Linked DNA regions of Homo sapiens: all the other regions are linked to region 1. The links are contacts of gene promoters, found by promoter capture Hi-C in blood cells and fetal thymus (Javierre and others, 2016). All regions are on one chromosome and are shown on one strand. The core of a region is centred on a gene start or on the middle of the fragment in contact, and the rest is flanking DNA. Distances in the headings are between cores, read along the strand shown. Region 1 holds the start of DMTF1 (cyclin D binding myb like transcription factor 1). Region 2 overlaps RUNDC3B (RUN domain containing 3B). Region 3 overlaps ABCB4 (ATP binding cassette subfamily B member 4). Region 4 overlaps ABCB4 (ATP binding cassette subfamily B member 4). Region 5 overlaps ELAPOR2 (endosome-lysosome associated apoptosis and autophagy regulator family member 2).

The links. Contacts are between HindIII fragments. The CHiCAGO score rates a contact against its expected background, and 5 or more counts as called.
Region 2: a fragment that was not itself captured here is called in contact with the fragment with the promoter of DMTF1 in region 1 in 2 of 17 cell types (total B cells and fetal thymus); the score reaches 5.5 in total B cells.
Region 3: a contact is called between a fragment that was not itself captured here and the fragment with the promoter of DMTF1 in region 1, in 1 of 17 cell types (total B cells). The highest score is 5.3, in total B cells.
Region 4: a contact is called between a fragment that was not itself captured here and the fragment with the promoter of DMTF1 in region 1, in 2 of 17 cell types (total B cells and non-activated CD4 T cells). The highest score is 5.9, in total B cells.
Region 5: a fragment that was not itself captured here is called in contact with the fragment with the promoter of DMTF1 in region 1 in 2 of 17 cell types (non-activated CD4 T cells and total CD4 T cells); the score reaches 6.7 in non-activated CD4 T cells.

The regions. Positions count from the first base shown.
Region 1 is chr7:87,150,003-87,155,285 of GRCh38, forward strand. It overlaps DMTF1 (cyclin D binding myb like transcription factor 1), which reads left to right and starts at 2,451. Exons shown (of 18, transcript NM_001142327.2): 1 at 2,451-2,553. DMTF1-AS1 (DMTF1 antisense RNA 1) reads right to left here and starts at 2,491. Exons shown (of 2, transcript NR_136253.1): 1 at 2,300-2,491; 2 at 1,421-1,656. RefSeq lists enhancers at 1,521-2,084, 2,000-2,239, 2,085-2,646. The HindIII fragment of the contact is 3,514 bases long and covers 233-3,746 here.
Region 2 is chr7:87,630,091-87,635,373 of GRCh38, forward strand. All of the region lies in intron 1 of RUNDC3B (RUN domain containing 3B), which reads left to right. It also overlaps a transcript of ABCB1 not described here. Among named protein-coding and RNA genes, the nearest start is that of RUNDC3B, 4.3 kb to the left of the region's middle. The HindIII fragment of the contact is 420 bases long and covers 2,628-3,047 here.
Region 3 is chr7:87,442,306-87,447,588 of GRCh38, forward strand. It overlaps ABCB4 (ATP binding cassette subfamily B member 4), which reads right to left. Exons shown (of 28, transcript NM_000443.4): 9 at 4,729-4,900; 10 at 2,557-2,670; 11 at 1,358-1,468; 12 at 1,014-1,139. Among named protein-coding and RNA genes, the nearest start is that of ABCB4, 31 kb to the right of the region's middle. The HindIII fragment of the contact is 2,752 bases long and covers 993-3,744 here.
Region 4 is chr7:87,416,157-87,421,439 of GRCh38, forward strand. ABCB4 (ATP binding cassette subfamily B member 4) reads right to left here. Exons shown (of 28, transcript NM_000443.4): 19 at 3,842-3,919; 20 at 2,381-2,464; 21 at 1,156-1,359. Among named protein-coding and RNA genes, the nearest start is that of ABCB4, 57 kb to the right of the region's middle. The HindIII fragment of the contact is 885 bases long and covers 2,899-3,783 here.
Region 5 is chr7:86,891,129-86,896,411 of GRCh38, forward strand. It overlaps ELAPOR2 (endosome-lysosome associated apoptosis and autophagy regulator family member 2), which reads right to left. Exons shown (of 22, transcript NM_001142749.3): 20 at 1,794-1,972; 21 at 596-761. Among named protein-coding and RNA genes, the nearest start is that of GRM3-AS1, 90 kb to the left of the region's middle. The HindIII fragment of the contact is 1,675 bases long and covers 2,372-4,046 here.

The sequences.
Region 1 (5,283 bases), core at 1,201-3,700:
GTCATAAGGCCCAGAGGGAAGCCTACAGGAAGAATCTGAGACAGGAGACCACCTGGTAAAGCCTGGTGTGTGGGCATAACTGGGACAGTTTATTCATTCCTCCATTAGCACAGCAATCTCCATCAGCTGGAAGGCCCTACAGTGTATACCCATCAGCTATATTAACAGGACTCAGAGCCTGTGTAGAAAGAAAATTACTCAGTAATTGTAATTTTCTTTTACTTTGAACAAAAGCTTATAAACATCTTTTTTTTTTCTGAATTAGCAAAAGATGATCATGAAACAACAGAACCTGCTTCTCAGTATTTGAAATACTTTATATTAATATATCAACCTGTCATAAAAGGCAATTTCATCATCAATCACTGATGAGGTTCACAAAAGTGTTATAGACACCTGGAGTCCAACAAAGTCAATTTTAACTAGCAAATGCAGTAAATACCATAGCTAAGCTATAAATACTTTAATAATTATTGTTTAGGATAGAAATACTTCTAATGATTTTTCTACAAAACATTTAATTCCTAAATAGGTAAATCCTTGGATAATATTTAAAACCTCATCCATTCCCTAGGTACACATTGACTAAATAATGAGGTACGGATAACATAGAAGTATAACTGCAGAAAATTGCTCTAGGAATCAAGTTGTGTTATGGATAGTCTTTACATTGATTATTCAAGCTAAAGGGATAGAGACGTTATTATATTTTTTTAAATTATGCATTAAGCTAATATTAAAATACATTTGTCATCCCCAAATAAATACCAATTGACTTGGGAAAAGGTAGTTATAAAAGAAACTCAACCAGAAAGGGAGAATTTAGTTATGAGGATGCACTTGACTTTTTGCGGGGAGTTAGCAGCGTGCAGGCTGACCTAAAATTTAGCAGAGGAGAATGGATAGCCCGACTATAATTTATATATCACTATTTTGTGCCTTAGCAAAAATAATCCTATATGGTTATGTCTTATGAAAAATATGGCTCATTAGGAACCACCTTATCAATGTTAATGTCAACAATTTTGCATATGTAATTATTATTTTATTAGAACTGCTCTTTGAGTAGTTGTATTGCTTTCCTGGCTTTAAGGTTTATTAGTTACCATTTTTAATGCTTAATACACGTCAGATTCCATGCAAACTACGCTGTCTACAATATTCTGGAAGGTACATCTTATTACTCCTAAAGTAAACAAAGCTAAAAGAGGTGAAGTGCCATATCCACTACTAAGAAATGGAGCCAAGATTCACACTCAGGTCTGACTGCCTGAGTCCATACCACGATACTATTCTGCCTCATAGTTTTGCTTACATAAACATTATTATGTACTTATTAAAAAATGGAATGATACACGGCTTAACTCCAACAGAATGCAGAGTGCCACAAATTAGTAATAAAGTTATCAACACAAGAAAATGCTGCTTCTGAGATTTATTTTTGAAAATTAGTCAAACATGTCGATCCTCCAGTAAAGCAAAGCATTTGTAAACTGGTTGTAATCATTTGTTTTCGTTATGAAAGTACTGCCAAAGTGTATTTTGTGAACTGCAACCGGGTAGTTCAGAACACAGGCTTTGGAGCTGAGGCTTCAATTCTAATTCCACCGCCAACTTGGGAGCCCTTGGACACATTCCTTCACTTCTCTTTGGTTCCTGTGTAAAATGGGATTCATTTGTAATAATTGTAGCGATGCACTTAGAACTTATGAACATTAAATGAGTTTAATATACGTAAAACATTTACCTGTCACATACGCACTCAAAGAATGCTGGCTCACATTACAGAACCCAAAGGCTTATTTATCCTTTTCGTTTATAAGGGTATTAAAACGCGTTTTCTATTTAGGATGGGTTTATACGGCTGCAACCCAAGGAGCATCTGTACTTTTAAGAGGAACTGGGCACAGCAAAACAGCATCTTCCTAGTCTAACAGTGAGACTACATTCACAGAGGACACATTTCATCAAGAACGACTTAACACGCCCAGATATCTCATATTATGCCCCTGCGGTAAGGCAAATCAAGTATGAAGACACACACTCCCTGTTTTCTTCAGCACTGAGATCACTGGTTCCCTCCGTTCCACACCGCGGCTCCCTCGGCTCGGAGCCACAGGGAACTATGAAAATCGGCACGCGAGGCCTAAGTGTCCCCAGAACCAGAGGAACCACAGTTGCGTCATAGCAGAAGGACCTCTTTTACAGCATCAGCAGTGGGATAGTCAGTGCCGAGTTTTCCTGGCAGGACAGCCGACAACCACCGCCACAGACCAGTACAAACATTCCAACCCAGGACCTTTTTTCGCGCGCCGACACAGCCGGAAGTGACGCGTACAGCCAGCACGCTGGGCCGCCAGCGGGACAGACGAGCGGGAGGGGCAGCGTGCGGGGAGCTGGGGGCGGGGCGCGGCCGCAGCTCCGTTTCCGGTGGCTCGTCGCGCTCGCTCACTCCAGCTGCAGCCACTCTCGCCCGTGGCTGCTTCCTCCATCCTGGTATTTTTTGGAGCTTCCATCCTGGTTCTTCCAAAGTGCCCGGACCCAAAACAGGAAGTAAGTGCGATGGAACCTTCAGGTTCCAACCGCCGCCAGGGCCGCTCCGCCCAGTGGAGCCTGTCCGGCCCCCTTGCTGCCCGCTAGCTCCCGCCGGCTGGCGCAAGCTGTCGGCGCCGGGGCACTGCGGGCGGGGTCGGAGCCTGGCCTTCCTGACGTTGCAGCTGCCGTCCCCGCACGTTCCGGCCAGGGCCTCCCTCTTAGGGCCGGGCGGTGCCCGTGGCTCAGGCTGCAGAGTAGGGAAGCGAGCGGCTGCCGAGGCACAGCGGCGATCCGGCGGGGGCGGAAAATGGCGGCGGCTTCGGAGGAGCTAAATGGCGCCGGGACCCCTGGGGGGTGGGGTGGGCCGGGAGGTTGAGTAGAGAACTGGGCCAGAAGGAGTGGAGACAGTAAGGAAGCCCTACTTGTTTTCTCGTGGTGTTCTATTTTTAGTTTTTATTTTTGTTACGTTTTCGGTTTTGTTTTATGGTCCAGCGTAGGAGAGGTAGGCTTGGGTGGGGTCGAGAGAGTGGGGGTGGGTCTCGACCCAACTTCCCCCCCTTTGCTTTTTTGTTCTTTTCCCTCGTTTGCGCTTTAGATTCTTCTGTAATTTTGCGGGGGTTCAGCCTTGCTCGGCGATTCACGGCCCAGACATAGAGAATCGGGATAGCTGGCCGAACCGTCTCTCTCAGTCTGACTCTCTTTAAAGAAGGGATGTGGGCTGGGGCGCGGGGACAGTCCTGGTGGAGCACGGAAAATGCGGCTGTAAAGTTGTAATTACCCTATTGTGCCGAGTTCCGAGAAAGTTCTTAAAATTGTTAAGTCCACTTTGTTCTCTAAAATGTACTTCGCTTTGAGAATTTCTTCAGGGAGGTATGTAGAATGTTTTACCACAATCTCCAGAGCAGATTTGAGAGTAGAAGTGGCCAAGTGCCCTTTTGTGCAATTGAATGATAGAGCATATGTCTTTATATAAAATACTCGGTGTAGATAAGGAAAAGGATAATAGTATACAGTATGAGTCAGGACTCCTCCCTTTCTCTCATTGAATTTGTGTAGTTGCTTTTTTCGCAACTCATTCATCTTTGTGTACCTCTTTTTAATGTACATGGATTTGATTATGTGTGCCTCCTTTCTGACAGTCGAGGCTGCATGTTGGGACGTCCTACAAAATGCATATTCTGTGGAATTATTTTTTAATATGACATGTCTTAAGCTTAAAGTGACGCCATTTGGAAAATTTTAAATTATACCTGTATTTTTAATTCGTGGGAGAAAACCATTTGTAGCTTTTAAGCTCCAAATACGAAAATATTCTTCCACTATGTTGAAAGTATTGCAAAATCTGTTTTTTTCAGTTAAGGGTTTTCATGTTTTTTCATTACTTCAAATTTCTTTAAGCTGGTTTTGAAATTATATTTCAAATAGCTTTCTGAGGATTACTGTCTTTTAATAACTTGAATAATTTGCCATCACTTTAACATTTAAAGAATGACTATGGCGATACACCAAAATCTTATCTTTTTGCTCTTATGGTGTACTTAGAGACAGGATTTCATGTATTTGGTTAGGATTTAGAAATTCTGTTAAGATTTAGAGAAAAAAGGTTAAAGCTACATTCCTTAACGTTACAAAAATTGTCATGCTGAGAGAATCCAATTTGGTGTGAGAATAATTTTTTTCTTCCATACAGAAAGCACAAAAACCAGCCTGATTGTATCTGGAAAAAACCATTATGTTACAGGTGTGAAAAATACATTTCATGATTGTGGTGATTTTTATCTCATTTTAACTCTCGATACTAGGTGCTTCTGTATGCCACCAAACAAGCTAATTTTTTTTCTTACTATTTTAGTTGATAGGCTCACCCCAAAATATGCTTTTGGGGACTGATTTAGCACCTGCATATTCTGCGTGAATCTCTTTAATTGGTTGCAGTTGAGCTAATGGTGGAGCCAAAATGCTATTGCCCTGTCTTCATCAACATTTAATCAGTAAGTACTGGGCATTGCATCTTTCTTAGAACTTTAAGTTCATACGTTGCAGTTATATGAATACATTATTTTATGTAAACATTTTTCTGAGTGTTCAGGTTTTAGAAGTATTTTGAGGGGAAGAAATCAAAGTTTGGGCGTTATGACTTGAGCTTTGAAAACAGCATGGTTGGGAAATGTTTACTGGTGGAGACTCATATCAAAAGTAGATAGCTGTCCTCTAGTCCTTTTTTTAGAGATCTCTTTTTTCAATCCTTTAGTTATCTCATTACACCCCAGGGGTGCTTTAAAGGTGGGGAGATAGTGTATGTATTTTATAAGGTTAGTTTGATATCACTGGTTAGTATTTAAATAACAACAAAAAACTTGCCTTTACCTCCTCCGCAAAAAATCTTACCTTTCTATTAGCCTCATTTATCTCTCCAAAATCTACAGACTCTAATTTTTATTAATGGTGTAATAAACTTACATGTCCTGAAAATAACATCTCATTATTTTAAACAGTTGCCTTTGCCATGCTTCATTAAGTGCATTGGCTTAAATTAACACCTGTGAGGATGAATGGGATAATGTGAAACAAGTATTCCTAAGGATTTACTGCCTGGCACATAGATGTTAAAATATTGAGGGAGCTTAGAAGTGTTTTTGAAAGTATTGACGTCTTGCATCACTTGTATTAAACACACATCTGTCTGTTGCAAAGACATCAAAAGCTTAGAAAGGAACAAAGTTTAAGGAGGGTTCATTCTACTTTTTT
Region 2 (5,283 bases), core at 1,588-4,087, 480 kb after region 1:
ACTTTCCTCCATCAGACTCCTAATCATCACCTAGTGATATTCCTCTTAAGAATCAGATGATGATGAAACTTTTTCTTCCTTTGCAATTTCTCTGTATTTTTCCGTTATTTTTCTTGTGTAAAAATGTGTCTAGCATCTTAAGTGGAATACAGATAATTATTCCAGGACTTAAATGCAATAACTCACAGTGACTTTTTAAAAAATACTTGAATTATTACAAATGTTTATCTAGCAAGAAGACCTTCTTCATTGACTGTATTTGTATAATGTAATTATTACAGCACTTTGAGTTGTAAATGGTAAAGTAATATGGTATCCGTTTAATTTGCCGTTTGTGCTGTCTAGGATGTAACTTTTTGAGACAAATAGGCTGTTAGGTGTTTTAAAATATAGGTAAATATCTTTAAAGTAGGTAAATGGAACCATAAGCAAGGCTGATTTTCTTAACCATAATATACAGACATCAAAAATTGCTTTAAAAATAAGGGTAGTTTCAACATATACAGTGCTTCTTGGGGGGTAACATATTTAATAAAAGCTCTATCAGCTTTTGTTAAACTTCACAAGGGCAGTGATTCTATCTGCTTTTTGCTTAGTCTTTTTTTTTTTTTCTTTCAAATTCTCAGTATAGCATCTAACACTCAAAAAATATTTATTGAATGAATAATTTCAGTGATGGGTACTGTTCCTTTTGCTTCTCCATTTTTGTCTTGGCTGGCTTTAGGTCATGTAATGATCATGTGTGCCCTTATCAGAGACAGTTGAAAAGAAAAGGATTTGTATTTCAACCTTATTTAAACTAAATTTTAAATTATCTTTAAGAAATTTTAGGAACGTCACACTGATTTCTGGGGACAGCTCTCTGTATTAGTTGTATTTTCATGATTGTAATTTACATAATTATTATTTTCTACTGTGAAATGAATATGTGCTAACTTTAGTTACAGTTTACACATAGATTTAGTGTAATAGCTAAAATAAGTTGTGGTTTCTGCTCTGGATTTCATTTGTATTGTTATTTATATGGATAATATTAAGGCTGTTTTTCAGATCCAAATAGTTGATGGTGCATGTAAATTATCCATGTGTAGTAATGGGGTCTATATGATAGGCTTTGTCTGAATGACTTTTACTTTTTGGAAGAAAGTCACTATAGGCCATTTGTACATTTTAAGTATCCCCATGACAAATTAAGAAAAATGAATAAAGCAGTATTTATGCATTTATTGCTAGTTTACTTTCCAGAGTCACCAAACCCTGGGTATTTCACTCATGTCTCTTATGAATTCTTTTTTTAATTTTTTATTTATTTATTTTTGAGACGGAGTCTCGCTCTGTCTCCCAGGCTGGAGAGCAGTGGCGCGATCTCGGCTCACTGCAAGCTCCGCCTCCCGGGTTCACGCCATTCTCCTGCCTCAGCCTCCTGAGTAGCTGGGACTACAGGCGCCCGCCACCACGCCCGGCTAATTTTTTGTGTTTTGTTTAGTAGAGACGGGGTTTCACCGTATTAGCCAGGATGGTCTCGATCTGCTGACCTCGTGATCCGCCCGCCTCGGCCTCCCAAAGTGCTGGGATTACAGGCGTGAGCCACCTTGCGCCCGGCCTCTTTATTTTTATATCTCAAATCAGAGATGATTTGATATTTAAGTTGGAAAGAAGTTGATCTGGTGGAAATATAACTGGGTTCTAGGTTGACTTTATCATTAACTAGTGTGCACTTTTACAAGCCATGCAACCTTTCCATTTGTTCATTTTTGTTGTCTGTAAAATAATATTGGACTAGATCATTGTTAACCTTCAATTATAGGCTTAAAATTAATAATAGCCTCCAAGCAAAAAATGTTTATATTTAGTTTTGAATTTTTCCAAATATGAGCAGGGTAATAATGATAAGATAAATGTTTATAATAGCTAAATTACGTATGTGCATTTTTCTCTATAAACAAAAATATTTTGGACTGTGCCTTTGATTTTGTAATTCTCTGCTGATGTTCTGGAAAAAATTGAACCATTTACAAAACCAAAAAAAAAAAAAGTCACCAGCATATATCATTCTAGTGTATCCACTTATACTTTCACAGTAATGTTTTTCCTTACCCCTTAAACAATTTAGGTGTATTCTCAGTTTAGGTTTAAAGTCTTCTTATGTGAGTACACAATTCTTTATGTTTAAAGCTTTATTCAAGTGCAATATATAGTTTTGAGCTTTGAAAGTGGGTTGTTTAGATAGGTAAGATAATCAGATAAAGAGCTGAATTGAATTTTGGCTCATGTGTGATTGTATATGTGTATGTAATTCATTAGTTTTTTTTAGTGAACATTTACATGTTGTAGACTAAAAACATTTGCATAGTCCTTATTTCATCAGATAAGTACTGTTTTTTCATATTTTTCACAGATTTTGGTGAAGAGATAGTAGGTCATTTGAGGACTCTAAATCTTACACACTCAACTTCAAAATATTCATACACTTGACTTTGGCTCTGAGAACCAACTAGTATTTTCCCTGTATATTCTCTATCGTTTAGAACTTCAGAAAATTAAGTTGTTAACGCCCTTCAGATTTTTTTAACTTGCATTTTTATCCATAGATAATCAGATATTAGTCATTTTTTCTGTCCTTTATAAGCTTCATTGTTTACAGAAAACCTTATATAGTCCTTTGATTTTGGTTTTGGTGGCAGAGTATTAAAATCTAAATTCTCTTTCTATGGCTTAACAATGTCTTATGAGCAAATTATTAAAATATGCACATATAAACATTTCAGAATAACACTTGTCAAACTTTTAAGTCAATACTTTTAAGAGAAACTTCCCATGCAAAGTCATAATTTTCCTGTTTTGTAGCTAGGAGGGACTAATAAGAGGAATATAAGGAGTAGTGTGATAAGCACGGTGGAGACAAGTGATGATTTCACAATTCAAGTGTTTTTAATAACATATGAATAGTCTTAGTTTTCTATAGGTCATGATATTATTTCAGAACTTGAATATTATTTCAAATTACATTAGCACCTCAGTTTTTCCATTATAGTCAAGGAATGAGAAGCTTATATTTTTATACATAACTAATATTTGAGTTAAGCTTAAAATCCTTCATCAACTGTAGTGCTTTACTCAGCATTTATTTTGGAGCGCAGGATTTGTATAACTGAAATTTATTTAAGCGCACAAGTTTAATCCACAACACATAATATTTACAATATTTTGGATGGATTGCTTTAAAAAATGATTACACGTTTCCCTACCTTCTTGACAAAGACTATACATAGAATAATGTAATCCTTATTGATGACTTTACTCTGAATCTGCCTCTATGAATATGCCCACTGTGCAGTGGTTGCCCTTGGAGACTCTTGCAGCATGTAGAGCTTTTGCCTAAGTGGCCCCAGAAGATTATGTGTTTGGAGTTCTTTGAGCTTTTGCATCCTTCTGTTTCTTCCTACCAAGTTATTTGTTATTTCTTACAACTCTTTTTATTTCTAGCAGTTCTTTTCTTTGTACTTCCCATTCTGACTTGCAGATTATAATTGGTTGTGACCTGGGAAAGTATATAACTAAACTTATCAGGTGTTTAATTTTTTTTTTTTTAAAAAGCACCCAGAGGCCTGAGTTAAGTTTAGTGAGCTTTAGAACTCTGAACTTCTTAACATTCTGGTGCTAACTAATCAGAAAAACTGTCTAGTCTATGCTTGAACTTGGTGGGAGAAATGCAGATATGTGAAATGTTATTGAATATTAATGACAGTATAATCTGTCTTATCCTGTTTTGTGTTGCTATAAAGGAATACCTGAGGTGGGGTAGTTTATAAAGAAAAGAGGTTTATTTAGCTAACAGTTCTGTAGGTTGTACAAAAACCGTGGCCCCGGCATCTGCTGAGCTTCTGGTGAGGGCTTTTGTGCTTCATCAAAACATGGTGGAGAGAGTCAAAGGGGAAGCAGGCAGGTGTGAAGAGAGACCAAACCCAAAGGGCATTCTGGTTTTTTATCAACCTACTCTTCTAGGAACTGATCCATTCTTCCTTGAGACCAATCCAGCCTTGCTAGAGTGAGAACTGGCTCACTAGTGGGTGATAAGTACCAAGCCATTCATGAAGTATCCACCCCCATGATTAGCCAAATACTTCCTGCTAGGCCCCACCTCCCAACACCATCACATTGGAGATCAAATTTCAACATGTCATTTGATGGGGGCAGACCAACCATATACAGATTGCAGCATAATCCTTTAAAGAACTTTAAATTTGTTGGCTGGGTGTGGTGGCTCATGCCTGTAATCCTAGGACTTTGGGAGGCTGAGGCAGATGGATCACCTGAGGTCAAGAGTTCGAGACCAGCCTGGCCAACATGGTGAAACCCCGTCTCTACTAAAAATACAAACAGTCAGGCGTGGTGGTGGGGGGTGGGGGGGGGGGCACCTGTAATTCCAGCGGGAGGCTGAGACAGGAGAATCACTTGAACCCTGGGGCGGAGGTTGCAGTGAGCCGAGATTCACTACTTCACCCCAGCCTGGGAGAAAGAGTGAGACTCTTGTCTCAAAAAAAAAAGAAAAAAAAAAGAACTTTAAATCCAGTGATTTACTTTTTTTGTTACTATTTGGTTGAATATGCTTGAGTATGCCTCATAAGACTGTTCATACCTTGGCTATAGTGATTATAATATTTTTGGCTAAAACTCTTTCAGTCATTTTATATGTAGTAGAACTTTGAGTTTGAGTTTGGATTCAACATTAGTTATATACCTTGGAAGCAGGTTCAGTATTATTAAATATTTCTAAGGATTCTTCATGCTCTAATTAGTAGATGCGCACAATGGAGGTAGGATGATCCTCTTTTCAACGACTAGTCCTAGAGTAGACATTTCAGCATTCACAAAAGGTCATTTTCTCTTCCCCCAACCAAACTGCATTCATATTAATTGACAACAGAGACTAGCTATCCCCCAGTCCTTTACTAGGGGGTATTTATTTTAACTTTGCTGTTGCTGCTTGATAATTGTCAAAATTTCAGTTGAGAGATGATATTCAAGGGGGAATGTTTGAAGCTTACCCACTCTTCTATTCCCTCTTACAGGTTTATAAAATATATCCCTGGGTCAGTCCAAAGCATCAGAGAGAATTGGGTATGTAGACTGCATTGCTCCACACTCTTCTATCCCCAACTGCTTTTACCCAGTTGTATATTGGAAAGATTCCATCAGTCTGCACTGAAGGTCATCATAAGAAGCAGTCACAGAGGGTCTTGAAGTTATTGTCAAGGACATTATTATGTCAAAAGGGGCTTC
Region 3 (5,283 bases), core at 1,119-3,618, 290 kb after region 1:
GTATTGTAGAAAATTATGTATTAATTCTGGAGATCTCTGTTCTGTCCCAATGCCTTTTTATGATTTTTGGTTTTGGCATGCCATTATTTTTACTTTTTACCTTATAATCTTCTGTTTTCACAATTATTGAATTATAATCCATTTTAATATCAGATAAACTCAATGCTCTAAAATTGGGACAACTGAGGAAATTCTGAATATAGCTCGTGGACTTGTATATTGCATTAATGTTAAATTTACTGATTTTTAATCATTGTTTTGTGGTAATCTAAGAGAATGTCCTTTTTAGGAATGTATTCTGAAGTATAAGGGTATACATAATACACACACACACACATAAACACACACATACACACACACACGGAGAAAGAGAAGATGATAAAGCAAGTGGGTCAAAATATAAACAATCTAAATCTGGGTGAAGGATCTGTGAGTTCTCTAGTTACAATTTTCTGTAAATTCAAATTTATAGCAAAACTTTTAAATGGCAAAAAAACATACCCTAGGCTATTACTGTCTCTGTGTTTCTAGAATTTTCTCAAGAGACTAGTTTCTTAAGAGACCATCCCACTTTCCCCCTTAGATATTCCTAAGTTTAAGAAAACTCAACTGTCTTGGATGAATTTAATTGCTGTCCTAAAATATCTGGTGACCCTAATTGTCATCAATTGTTCCCAACAATTGCTATATGGAGTATGTTTGACCAAACTCTAACTCATTGAAAGTAATCCTCTCAGTGGTTTGTAGACTGCTTTGCAGTAATTTAATGTGTTATGAAAGCTTAGTCAGAACAGAGGAGAGCTTTGTCCAGCTTCCACAGCTTTTATGACTTTTATTTAATGCATTTGTGAAACCAGCCCAAGGGTGTGAAGGCATTATCCATCGGCATTGCCATTTTGTAGGCTTTTTACCAAAACTGGATTCACACGCAAATTTGTTACTGAAAAACCAATTTCAAAGGGCCAATTTGTATCCAGCTTCCCACTCTGGAAAGCTTGGTTCTTCCCACTTACTGTGCCCTCATCAGGGTCATAGAGCCTCTGTATCAGCTGGACCGTTGTGCTCTTCCCACAGCCACTACTTCCAACCAGGGCCACCGTCTGCCCACTCTGCACCTTCAGGTTGAGGCCCTTCAAGATCTGTAAGGAAAATGAGAAAAAAGAACACACTTCACAACAAAGCCCTAAAATGGGAATAATTCGATTCAGTTTGAAATTTGAAAAAAAAGTATCAAATAAGGGAATATAACCCCCAAAGGAAAAGGCACATAAGTATCAAAATAATAGAGACTTTATTCTTTAAAATGATTCAACAATCAACCTCAGTTAGGAATTCCTATAAATATTACTTACAGTACCTTGACGTTAGCTCGAGAAGGGTAAGAAAAGTGAACATCATTGAACTCCAAATTCCCTTTGATGCTGTCTGGTTTGTGTCCTCTCTCTGAAAAACTGTCAATTTTAGGATTCTAAATAAAACAAAATGTAATGACTATTCCATCATAGCACAAACAAGTTGCATTTTTAAGGAATATGATTCAGCAAATTCCAAAAATAGGACCTGGAATGTCACAATCCCCTTTACATAAGAAAAACCCAAGATGAAGATTGTGTGTATATGTATGTGTGCTGTTTAAAGAAATACTCCTTTTCAGAAAATAGTGTTTTCCTGAAAAGTACGTAAGAGATATTCATCTCATTTCATATAATATTTCCCTTTAAGTTTTTGGCATATCCTCATAAATTTTCTAAATGGTCAGATATGCATATTTATACAAGTGCAATAACAAAAATATGCTATAATTGATATATATTATAGCCAAGTATTTCAGCATTTAGTGAAAATTAGCTCATTCCTAAATAATAAATGTAATAGATTGAATTGAGAAGATTGAATGGTTGATTATAGCAGTTATTTAGAAATAATGTAAACTTTTAATACAATCAGAAACTGAGCACTTTTCTCACGACTTGGATCAATGAAAAAGGAAATTGCTTAGATTAAATGATCAAATTTCACTTAGCTACCTTGCAATATTTGAATGCAGTGACTTACTTTTTTACGTCAAAACTTTTTCTTTTTCACTGTAGTCAGTTTATTTAATGTAGTTTATTTAAAATCATACCAAACATGCAGTGATAATTTTTTGGAGAGGGGGAACCCACAGCAAAATATACTGTCAATTTTGGTCCCACCGATAATTTATCTACCCCCCATCCCATATAGAAATCATAAGATTCTCAGTCTGGCTACAACATGAAAGTGAAAAAGATAAAAACTAGGAAGAGAAACGTCTTTGCTCTGCACTAGTGCAGATGTCCTTTTCCAAAATGAGATCAGTATTATTATATTATCTAAAGATACATTTAAAAAATATTAATAAGAGGTATTTTCTTTCATTTATTACTAACAGGTCATTCATTTCATATAATTAAATGTCACTTTAGTCAGTACAACTTATTCAATGTAGTTGATTCAAAAATATGCAAACTAAAGCCAGATTTAATTATACAAGCTCAAAGACTTCTTTTGGCACTAAAATAATAAATGACTTACATTATCAATAATATCAAAGATCACATATGCTGCTCCTCTTGCATTGGCAAAAGCATCAATACATGGGGCAGCCTGGCCAACACTGAAAGCTCCAATTAGGATTGAAAAAAAAACCTGAGCAAAATAACATGAGGAAAAGTTTAAGTCACATTCTGGCATTCATTATTATCTAAAATGTGATGTATATGTAACATAGTACATAAAGGATTAAGTTTAGGTTTATCCTTTCCTTTTTTTTTTGTGGAAGAGCAACATTTGCAAGGCTAATATAGCATTTTATTGCCTGAGTGGGTCTATTTTCTCAAACTACCTATTGTTCTCCTGAATACATACAGAGTTAAAAAGATTTTTCAAACCTATTTCATTGACTCACTCACAAATGCCACCAGAAAGAAACATTTTCAGTCAGTATTATTATTCCATCCTATATGATTTTCTCTAACTATGCATGGAATTACATAGACGGTTCAATATAAAACATGGCAGATTTTGGCCCTATGTAATGCTCCTAAAAAGCACCATGTCACATATATTTTTAAAGATTTTTAACATAAAAAGTAACAGTTTGCACATCATAAAACATAAAATCACTCCAGTGTGCACTGGTTAGCAATTCCTTTACACAGTTATTCTGTACTGTAGCATACAACACTTAACACATTTCCCTTCACAGTATTTTTTCACTAGGAAAATGAATTGATATAAAGAAGCTCAGAATACAGCTTCAGGAATCCAGATTATTAGCATAACTTAACTGAGAAAAACATAAGTGAAGATAAATTATTTTTTTCTCTCAGGGCATGGTAAAACTTCTACATATAATTTGGCTTTTCTCAAAACACAGCAACACTTCATGTTACCCATAACTCAAATATCAGTTAAATATCTATCCCCCATCTGCAATACAGATAAGGACCAGTAAGAAAGAAAAATAATGTTGACCAAAATAGTTGCCATAAGGTTAATGCAATAGAGTCCCTGCCCTCTATGCAGAGGGCTTTGCTTGGGCTCCCTCTGGGGATAGCAATCTCAGCCCTACCGGATAGGTGTCATTATCCACATACTACAAATGAGGAAATTAAGGCCATAGAGGACAAACTCATCACCAAAGGTGAACGGTTGTCAGGATTCAACCTCCCTTCTTCATAAAACATCAATAGTAAATGAGGAAGTGAAGAAAGGGTAGCAAGCTTCCAAACCGACTGCCAGAGAGAAGATGGAAGTGAGAAAAATTAGACTCAGCATTAATGAGGGCTCACCAAGTCGAACACCCACAACCTCTCAATGAAGTCTGAAGATACCACTGCATAAAGCATTCTGAAAATATTCACTTTCATAATGACCCCAAGTCATCATCAAAGGGCCAAATTATGCTCAGTATCCTCATTTTAGCAAGATAGGGAAGTACAGATGTTAAAAGATTTCTATTTAAATAGTTACATATTGTTCTGAGTCTCTGACATGAAAAGATGGTCACAAAATATTGGTAGTTCATAAATGTGGTTACAAAAAGATATACATAGTATGATCCCAGTTTTGAAAGAAAACAATGTGTATATATATAGAAAATGACCTGGAAGATATATGCCAAAAATTATCATCAAGAGAATATAAATTATTAGATTGTAAGTAATTTTAATTTTAAAAATTCTGTATCCTAATCCTTTGTAAAATTAGTATATATTATTTTAACAATCATAAAATGAAGCTATCTTCATTTTGATAAATAAAAACAAACTAACATAACATCTCTTCTTGTATTTCAGAGAGCTGATTGTTTTAAGTGATATAAATGTAACATTTTCTTGTGCAATGACCTATTCTGTAATAATGATGCTTACTTTCTTATACAATAAAACTCAACGGCAGAGGGAGGATGGCTCCCATCCATATTTGTTTATTCCTAAATTCATCCCATTTTTATTTCCTTTTATACATTGTATATGTTTCACAAATGGTCTAACCACATGCTATTTTCTTATCCACACTCATAATTATGACTTGTATATACTAGAAAGTCAGCTCTGCCCACTGGACAGTGGAAAGATTCACCAAAAACAAAAACCTATAATCATGTTCATCTTTCAAAAAGGAGCGATATCAAAGAAAAGAGAAGGTAGATGGAGAAATAAGATTTTCATATTCTTCATAAATGTTAGGAGAACTACTTACTGTCATTGCATTTCCAATAGTATATTCTTTTGATATGACTAGAGTGGATCCATACCAGAAGGCCAGTGCATATGATGCATATATTAACAGGAAGGCAATACCCATGGAAATGTTTGCTGAAATAGCTTTTTTAATTCCAATCTCTTTGGCATTTTCTAAATGTTTCTGATACCTACCAGAAAAATGAGAGGGAAAACATTATAATTAAGAATAACAATCCATAGTCCGAGTCACACTCGGCTCCTATATAGTTGGAGGTTTAAGTAACAAAGTCAGTCAAGGTAATGAACCCATGGTGAGACCCAGATCTTTGGGAATTGAACTAATTCAGGATCAGCCAGGCCTAGAACAGATCCAAGCCTTCTCTTTACTGGCCCGGTTCCATTTCCCTTCATCCATTCCAAGCCAACCAACATTCCTGTGGTTATTCCAGAATTGAGGGCTCACCCTGGGATATGGAAGAGCTTCTCCATCACCTTCACGGCAATATCACAAGTCAGGGTTAAGAGGGAATGAGAGAAACCAAGCCAAACCAGAATTGATTGTAAATGTCAC
Region 4 (5,283 bases), core at 2,091-4,590, 270 kb after region 1:
AACCTGGAGATACTATTATACCTAACGCTGCATGCAGCGGCAGCTGATGCTGATTACAAGAGGACAAGAAAGGATTTCACCAGACATAATTGGTTTAGTGGAAACATGGTTAGTCCGAATGTTAATCTTCCCTCTTAATATGGTGCCTCTGAAGCTAGTCACTCACCCAGTCTCTGACGCCTTCTTCCCTATAGAGATACTGTCTGTTCCACTTCTCATAACTAGTTAAGGTCAGTTGCAGTAATGCTTGTAAAAGGGCTTTGTAAAGTGCAATGCTATAAAACCTATATCACAATTTATATTTATTATCTGCTTCACTTCCTCATGTTTCAATAAAGGATAATAATTACATAAATAAGACTAAGAATGTTCATGGTTATAATCTACATGTGAACATTTCAGTGCATGTACTTGTAAATAAAATGTTTATGTGTAGATTTAGACACTTAAACACATATAAAGAGACCATATAGTAGAGGTAAGAGCTTTGAAACTAGACCTGAACTTAAATCCCAGCCAAATCTCTAACTTCTGTTTGAATCTCAGGTTCTGTATTTCTGAAATTGGGATAACAATAGTGCCTGCCTTATAGGATTATTGTGAAGATGTAATAAATTGGTGCATATAAATATGTAGCACAATAACTGGCACGTAGTAAGGCTCAAGTAAATGTTAAGCCCAATTGCCATTATAGTGAGAACCACAAAATTGAGGCATTACTGCCATCTGGTGGCTGCCATCTTAATTATAGAAATCACAGCCAAAAAGAAGAGGATCTCTTAAATGCCAGCACATGTCCGACCCTGAACAATTCACTTACAGTCTTCTGCATGAAGGTTTGTGAAACAGGGATGACATTTGTCCAAACAGTAGCATTTGGACATGAAGTAAAATGAAATGCACTTTGAATATTCAGAAGTTCTTTATCATAACTATGTTAAGTGCTTTCTATAGGCTCAACGTTTTATGTTAATCACCTTATATTTAAGTTCTAGACATTAATACAGTAAAATATTTCATACACAATTGACAATTATTAGTTGTAGTGGGCACAAACATTTAATTATTAAAGCCTGCATATCATGATAAATAATTCAAATAAAACACATGTCTAAAAACAACACTTAACACCAATTGAAATCTTATTTGACCTACCTTTCCAGCAGCTTCCAGTTCTTTTTTATCTCTTTTGGCATTTCCAGCCAACAATTTCATTTCAACAATTCCTGACACAGCAATAATTGGAACAACTGCTAATAGCAATAGGGTTAACTGCCAACCGTAGATAAATGATATGATAATACCAGTTCCAAGGTTAGCTATATTCTGTGCAATTAAAGCCAACCTGGTTCCTGTGGCCTGGGAGAGAAAAAGCACAAAGCAACTGTAGTTTTAAGCTCCAAATGCATGCGCTCCAGCCTTAGCCTCTTGGTCAGAATGATGAGTGGGTTCTATGCCTGAGCTACATTGGCTTACTTTCATTACAATAAACCCACAACACCTGTGCTTAACTCATGAGGCTCTGCAGACATTTCTTCATTGTGCCTTTACACTCTCATTCCTCTCCTGCCCACCTGAACCAACATTCTAGAACCAAGTAATCAACTTCTCTGCTTTGTGGATGGGCACTGGGGGTGCATGTATTTTTTCATAGATGCAATGTTCAAAGAGGAAACTAACTCCAATGTACCTGGGTAATTTTAAAGACCATTTAATTCAAAAGTGTAAAAGGGAAAGAGACCATCTGTTGTTACAAAGGGTACGTGTCCTAAGAGACATCCACCACAAAGCACATATAAGGATGAATTAGTGTTGTACCACTCAGAAAACAAAGGTGGCTGTAGCAACATTGCAGTCAGCTCTCTGCATCCATTCCTCCTTCTCCTGTTGTGTGGAAGCAGTGAGCTGCAAAGTAACCCACCTCAGCTAAAGGGGTGGGGGACGTAGGCCACTCAGAACACCACCATCCCCTGGAGACAGTGGTTCAGGGTGGGGCATGTGACCCAAATTAGCCCAAATTAGATTTCAGCAAAGGGTTTTTGTTTGGTGGTTGAGGTAGAGGTGTGTGCTCTCTTTCACTGGATGGGAAATAAGGAAGCCTGTAGTTCTAATTACTATTAGCAGCCATCCTGTGACTGCAGGGAATCAGCCTTGGGATAAAGCCAAAGCCAATGAGGGAACCTGGATTCTGGATTAAATCTGGAGGGGGCAGTGGGTCAATCAACCTTGAAGTTTAATCTTCTGCTTATTGTTTACAGCAGTTTTGATTTGAGCTTTCTGCTATTTCTAGCTGGAAGCATCTTAACAAGTGTGGGTATGCTACATGCTTATCTAAAACCATGTTATGTAAAAAACTACAAGTAGAGTGCAGTCTACCTACTCCTTGGACTTGGGCAGCATCTGTGGCAAGTCTTGTAGAAAGTGCACCAGTACTGTTTTTATGGTCATCAAACCAGCTCATGTCCTATGGCATAAAATACACGTTTATGTTAGTTCAAAATTAAAACAAGCAAAGAAAACCAGACAAAGCCTCCCAAAGCTCCAATGCTGAGGAAATTTAGGGGAGACCTCATATGCAGTGTAGAGTCCCTGGCCTTGCTCTGAGCACACACCCCCAGAATCTAGCAGAACCCAGCTTCCTGACTGCTCTGTGGTAGCAGGGAGGGCATCTCTGGTCTAGGGGGGCAGGGCTCACCCAGATGGCTGCCATGCTCCTTGCCAGCTCCTCCCAAGGCTGGGAGGCTGGTAGGCATTCCATTCACCCAATCATCAGGTCTTTCACTATGGACACTTCTGCCCTGATATGGTGTTGTCTCTCATAAAGGGTGGTGGAGCTGTCTTGGACATGTTGTTCTGATAGATTCTAGGCAGGAGAAAATAAGCACTGGTTTCTCACCAAGCTTTTGTTTGATTTTTTGTTAAACACTGATTGAAAGTGTGTCTGATCTCCAGTTAGCCACAGGGATAAAAAAAGAAGCATGTCTGAGACTTAATTTTAATTGTAAGCTACTCATCCATGGCATCTTTTACCTTCACATAAAATAATTTTTCCTGCATAGCAAGAGTTTAGGAGATACTGAAATAGGATTTGTAGACAGATTTAATCAGAATATACTACCTACTATGTGCCCATTTGTGAACAGAAATGTAATCAGTTCCTGTCAATTGAATGGATAATATTCTGGCCCTCTCTTAGGCATTTTCTATAAAAATAGATAATTCATGTTTGCATATTTTCCTATGTCAGGCACTAGAATGTGAACTTACGAGGAGAGCAAATAATGGATTATACAGTACCAGCCACCAGCACAGTGTCTGGTACATGATAAGTAATGTTTGAATAAACAAACAAGTGAATTAATGTGAAAATAGACCTCAAATAAGAAATAAACAAAACTCAATTATTAACATTTGAGGATACCTACAGTTAGTATGGTAGATTGTGGTACATGAGATTAAATGCTATCAACTAGGTTTTTCTTGGTTTAAAGACATCCTGGAGTCTCAATGGACTCACCAGGGCCTGCACAGGATCCAGAAAAGAGATACAGGTCTTCGAAATGATAGTGTCTACATGGAGAGAGATATTTACAGAATAAGCCAAAGCTACCCAAATAAAGCCTATTTCTATGAAAAAAAACAAAAACAAAAAAAAAACAAAAAAAACATGAGAAGTCTTTAGCTCTTGAAGGACCAGGACAATTTGCAGGACTCTGCCCCATCCTTGCGTGAATACCCTGGGGGGAAAACATGCATATCGACATAACAATAAGAACAGTAAGAAGCTTAATATGGAAGAAATGTGAAAGATCAGAAGGCATTCTCCAGCGCACACTCCTACCTGTCTTAGCATTGCTTTAAAAGCCATTGACCGCAGTCTTCTGGTGAGGATCTCGCCAGCTTTCCCAAACGTGAAACCCTGGTTGAGAAAAAAGGCTATGGTCTCTTTTGATCTTTATGTATGTAATTGCACCAGACCAATCATGTTCAACTTTTATGTAGCAAAGTTATGAGTTGTTTTACAGTTGCCACGGATCCTCAAGTCATGTTAATAACCTGAGCAGCCCCAGATGAATCAAGCATGCAACCATAGCAGGAACCTAAGTGCTCCGAAACAAGAATCAGGGACTGAATTAAGAAGCAGACACCACATGGCAGGATGCAGGATTCAATCAGATTGAGCTCTGACACCACCCCATGGCAGGATCCAGTCAGATGGTGCTTCCCGGCATCACTTCATTGCAAGATCCAATCAGATCACACTTCATTACCATACGCTTATAAAACCTGACCCAGCCTCCAGCTTGGGGAGATACTGCTTTGGGAACTAAGCTCTGTGAGCTTCTCACTTGTGACAAGTTATAAAATTCCTTTGCTAAATCCTCCTTGATGTGGTCATTGGGTTGAAACCCACCAAGTGACCAAACCTGCCCGTTGTGTGGGTAACAGTTGCTAGTATTCTGACACAGGTGCCTATATTCACATTGATTTTACATTATTTGTATGTTAACTATTTAAATAACAAAAGTCCAGGACCAAATACGAATTCAAAGCCCCCACGTCAAATTCATGTACTGCAAAATCATCAGTATGCATTACAATCAAAGGCCAAAAATCTTAAAGGTGTCCAGTTCTGGCTTCTAAACCATTCTAAATAGGTTTATTTTTCAAAACTTTGAAGGACAACATCTCAGTGACAAAGATACTGTGTTTAACTACAAAATTCAGTGTGTTCCTACTACTTCCAATAAACCAGTTAAATACAGAAGTAACAAAGTCCTACACACGAATTCATTTTGGCTCATGCAGTGTAAAGGAAGGATGACCTTAGAAACAAGATCCAAATGAGTATGCTGGTTCCTGGTCACAGCTCCACCTGCACTCAGATTGGGGAACAATCAGGGTACTCTTCCTTCCCCAGCCTCTTTGGGACAATTTCCTACTTTCTAATTACCACATCCAAACTGGAGAGGAGTCCAGATATCCAGAAGTGGGCTTACTTCTGGGACGTGTGAGTCTCCAGCCACAGTGTGAGTGTTGGGGTAGCCGTGCCGAGGGCACACGGGGGAGTGCACATCAGAACTGTTTACTAAGCCAGGGGGATAGATGATCAGTGCACCCAGTGAATCGGCCCCAGGTGTTCCTTGTCCAGGACCAGACTGCCCTCCCCCTCCATTTGCTGGCGGATTGCTACAGGTTCTATGCATCAGCCCACTGTTCCTGCGGCCCCTGAAACACATTTTCTAGCTGCACTCCCTAGCATGCCAGGGACTGGGGCTGGAT
Region 5 (5,283 bases), core at 1,959-4,458, 260 kb before region 1:
ATAATTTATATAACTTTTGTTTGCTCTATGTAAAACAATCTTGTCATAAAAAAGGAACAGTATGAATGAATGTAATATCTTTTATTAGCCCCCACTTTTATATTATAAAATAGTATCTTTGTGAAAATTCCAATATCACAAAAATGTATTGCTTTCAAAGACTAAACACTCTCATTAGTTCACTATTCCCAAAAGGCAGCCACTGTTAACAGTTTGCTATGCAAATACAAACATAAATGTATATTTAATATAAATACAATAGTCCATTTGTTTTCACTCTATCTTGGACCTATTGATTTATCAGTACACATAGCTATCTCAATCTTTAACAGCTGCAGAGTTGCATAGTATTCTATCACTTTGACAGATGAAAATATCTAACTCCTTACTGATGATGTTTGACAACCAACGAAAACAATGCTGCAGTGAATATTATTGTATCTATATCATGTGCTTCTAAGAGTATTTCTGTTGGATAAATACCCACTGAGATATAAACATGCAAAATAACAGCTTGCGTGAATGCTATTATTAGGTTAATATGCCCTCTACTTTATAAACACCCAGTAACACCAGGTTAAAATTCTACTCTCACCTTGGTTGCCAAAGATTTGAGTTTTCCTAGTAGTGACTGTTTATTGGAATATACAACTTCCTCTTCATTATCTTCTCCTTCCATGATAGCACAACTGTCTGCAGCCGGGAGTTCACACTCTTTTGAGTTAGTCGTCATTACTAACTTGGAATATTTGTATTCCAGTCTAAATAGTGATAAAATAAATAAACAAATAAGTATCCATTTATGTTAATATAAATAAATACTTATTTTAGGTGGTAATATACCAGCTCATTAAATTGACTTGGAGTATAATTGCTCCACCAACAAATTTCCCTAGCCTATAGCCATAGCAATATGTGTGTTATCATGTATCTACCATTTACAAAGAAATATTTCCCAGGATGTCAGAAATCAGTTCAATAGAGTTAATTCTACCACTTTACATTGAATTGTCCAATAATGAAAAAATTGGGGGGCAGGGACTTTTAGGCCTGAATGCATTTTCTTAACATGAATATTTGGAAGCCAATTCACTAAGGTTTTCCCAGTATTTAGTTCGTAAAGATGAGAATATCAAACAGGCAAGTAATTTGGTCTTTATCATCTCTCTATATTATTTATTCCTTTATACTATCACCCCAGATATTGCAATTGTCCCTAGATATTACAATATAGGAGTTCCACAGTCCCACTGAGGTGTAAATCATTCTAAAAGATTCAAGTCCTATAAGAGATCAAAATACATTCAGGAATTAGGCTCAATATTCAATTCCAGATACTTGAAGACCTGGAGTAAATAAATGTGATATTTGCCTATACACTAGGTCTGGTTTTTTTTGCAAATGTCTTCCCACAAGAAATTTTAAAAGAAAAGGTGAAGGAAGAAGACAGCATTATATCATTTTTAAAAAAGGCAGACACTGAGAGAATACCTGCCTTCCAAATCTCAGCTCTGCTATCATCTACCTGAATAACATGGAGCCTCTTGTTTTCCTTGTTTTCTAATAAATGACTCTAACTCAATGATCTCTAATGTTCTATGATCTTTCTACTGTCAGAATAACAATCGTTTCCTCTGCTTGCTTTCTCAAGGCCTTTCCTATGATTTCTTCGCAAGGAGAAAATTCTTGTGTCTCTGAGAGAATCTATTTATTGGATATAATGATCAAGTCTAGAATTTTCACAACAAAATAGGCCCTCTAGCTCTCTTGTGATCATCTCAGAGGGTACTTACTTTTGATTCTTTTTCCAGAAGTAGCAGGTCAGAGCCACCAGCAAAACGGCAGTAAAAGCTCCCACACCGGCTCCCACCTTCAGCCAAAAGTCAACCGTTTCACAGGTTGCCAACTTTTTCTCAGGCAAAGAAATTCCTTTAATGCACCATTTAGGTTCATTCCACACATACAAGGTTTCCTTTAAAAAAAAAAACATAAAACCATAGAAGACATGAGAAATGAAATTCAGACTCAACTGTGAAAGCTAGATTTGTCACTGGTCAATTTCTTACATAAAAGAAGAAAGGGTTTTGCTAACCCTTTACTTACAGTAGGCATAGAGGATTATTCAGCATTCATTTAATAAAAGCTCCAGAAACACAGGAAAAAAATATATGTGAATGAATAAGGAATTAATGAATGAAAAATGTAAAAACCAAATAAAGACATGGATTGATGGATTGCCACCTGAGAAGGATGCAGTACAGTACATGCCAAGGAGGTTGAATAAAAATGGCTCCATCTGGACATACCTTCTGGGCTATTTTTTTTTTTAATTTTGATGCCTTTAAACATCTTACTCATGTTTTTGAATGAAAGCTTAGGTTGCTTAATCTAAGAAATGGGTTGCATTCACCCATCATGTAAGCCCATTTTCCCAATAAGCCTGTCCTCCGAATGGAAGAACAGACCCTAGACCTGGGACATACAGGTGCACCACGGCTGGGTAACTGGTGTAAGTGGGCACACAGTCTACACCCTTCTTCCCCATGCCAAAATAAGGAGGGCATTATTCTGGGTCATCACTACCCACACCAGTTACTTTCATCCTCCCGAAATAGATGGCAATTCCTTTAGGGCAATGTTTTTCAAACTGCAAGTTACAACTAATTGTGAATAATAAAATATTAATATACTGGGTCTCAACCAGGAATTTTTTAAAATAGACAGATCAAATAGGCAGATCAAAACAGAAAATCCAAGTACAGCATATGGTTCGTTATATATTTCAACATGTACGGTGACCAGTAGCAATTTGCATGGTGATTCTATCCACCAACATTAATAATATAGGCACTAATCTTTTAACGTGTCTCATTAAACTTTCTGGTATATGATGGTCATTTTATCAACACTCTAACAGAGGAATAACACCATAATGTTAATTTTTATGATTTAAATACACAAACAATTTTGCAGTTAGTCATGAAGTGAAAGGGACATGAGACTCTTACTCACTTTGGGGAAAAGTTTGAATCAAGTTTTGGATAGGAAATTTCAGCATGTTTTTTAGAAAGGATATTAGTGACTGGATTTTTTTGTTAGTACATTATAACTGAAACGTGTTTCCTAAACTTAGTGCAAATCAATTTCTTTTTAAGTGGGTCACATTATTTTTTATAAAAATGGTAATGTGGGAAATGCTGAGGCATGTTCAAATTCATCTGCTGCATCTCTAAGTGTCAATAATGACAATACAGAGAGAAACAAATTCGTCAGCAAATGTTGACTTTATTTCAAGTGCATTCTAACAAGAAAAAAAGACTGTACCATCTTTGATATGGTTTTATCAAATGTGCAATGCCCAATGAGAACAGCAAGCTCTACTGTCTGATGACAGTCTTATAACAAAATCTTAAAACTTCAAAATTAAAAAAAAATACTTGCAAACCAAGAATGCTTAACTTTTCAATAAGTGTCTCAAATACCGACATGGAAAAAAATCAAGCTATTGGCAACTTTTCTTAGTAATTCTATAACTATTAATTAGAAAGTCTTATTCATTCAACCACACATCATTGGAAAACAAAAAATGGCTGACACTGCAGCTGAAAAATTTATTCTTCTAGTGTGTAGAAATATCTTGTGAGCAGGGTAAGATAAATTTAAAGATAAATTTTAAGACAGTCCCCTTAGTGATAACACAGTATCTCTTCAAATCTTTAGTGCTGCATGACATATAGAAGTAATGCTTAATACACACTTAGAACCCAGTATAGATTTTGGAGATCCAATTTGATAAGAGCACTTCTATCACAAGTTGTGCGGCTCTTTTTGTTTATATCAGCTGTATGTGGAGGACTTGTATAAATTTAACATACGCGCCTGTATTAGATATATTTAAAGAATTAGAAAAGTGCACGCTCAATCAACATAAAGTAAAAAATTGTAAAGATGGTGTCGGAAATAGGACTGAAACACAACGGGATGGTTAAAAAATGTAAATATACCCATTGCAATATTTTGCAATAACTATTTTTCTTCTATCACGAAGCTTTGGTATCCAAAGAAATCCACATATATTCACTGACAATAAAAAATGCAGCAATATTTGTCATTTGTATATGAAGCTCACGGAGGAGTTGACTTTTTAAAATATTTTATTCAGTGATCGAGGTGGCTATTCCCACTTACTGTATCATACCAATTTTTTATAGTTGCAATGGAATACATTAAGTAAGGTCTATGAACTCAGGAATGACATTCATAGTTTTGTAACTGAAGCTCAAGCTCCTTGGACAAATATTTCCAAAACTGGTATCTAAGCATAACAGAAGGATATATTTAACTACTTCCAGTATTTCTCAAATTAAATTTGTAACTATAGGGGTATGTTATAAATTTCAACATGTCAAGCACATCAAAGTGATCCAAAAAGTATCATTTTAAAGGCAAAAACAAATACTAAAGAATCACACAGCAACTATCTATTCTCAACAATCTTATAATACGTTGAAGTGACCTTACCAAGGAAGAGAGTTTGAATGAAATAAAATTAGAGAATTTGTTGCAAATTTACTGTCTTAACCTTCTCATCATTCATTACCTTCCAGGAGAGAAATATTAAAGAATGTTTGGATAAAAGATCATTCAGCTATTCAAAAACCCTTGAATTAAACTTGGTAGCCAAAGGGAGTGCAGCTTCGTTTTTCATTTACTCTAAAAAACAATTATAAGATAAGCAGTTTATCAAAATTGTAGAGTAAAGGTAAAGAAGAATTTCTATTGTGAAGTAGAAAAAGCATTATCATTATTAAGAGGATTAACAAGAAACTATTTTTGTGAATCTGGAATTTTTATCCTTGACCTACTTAAAAATATTAAAAAGAAACTGTCTCAGCAGTGTGCTAGCTGAGTGAGCGGCACTGACCCTGTGTGCTCTGAACTGAAATAAGCCATCTACGAGGATACACATTTGACAAATTAAATAACACATTTCCTAATTTTTGTTTTTGTGTTGTCTGCTTATTTTTTGTATAATGCTTTAAATTATTAATAAAAATATACTTTACATTAACTCTATGCTTGTACTTTATCATAAAATATAAAATAAATCTTGCTCCTTAAAACTTTATCTCACTTTTAGGCATATTTCTGTGTGTCTAATTTGTGTGTGTGTGTGCTGGGTTTGATGTACAATATAATTCTTAATATAGTTTCACTGCCGTTAAAGTTTGAAAAACACCAACTTAGAGAATAGTTCTCTACGGTTTTTTCCTAGGGGTGAGG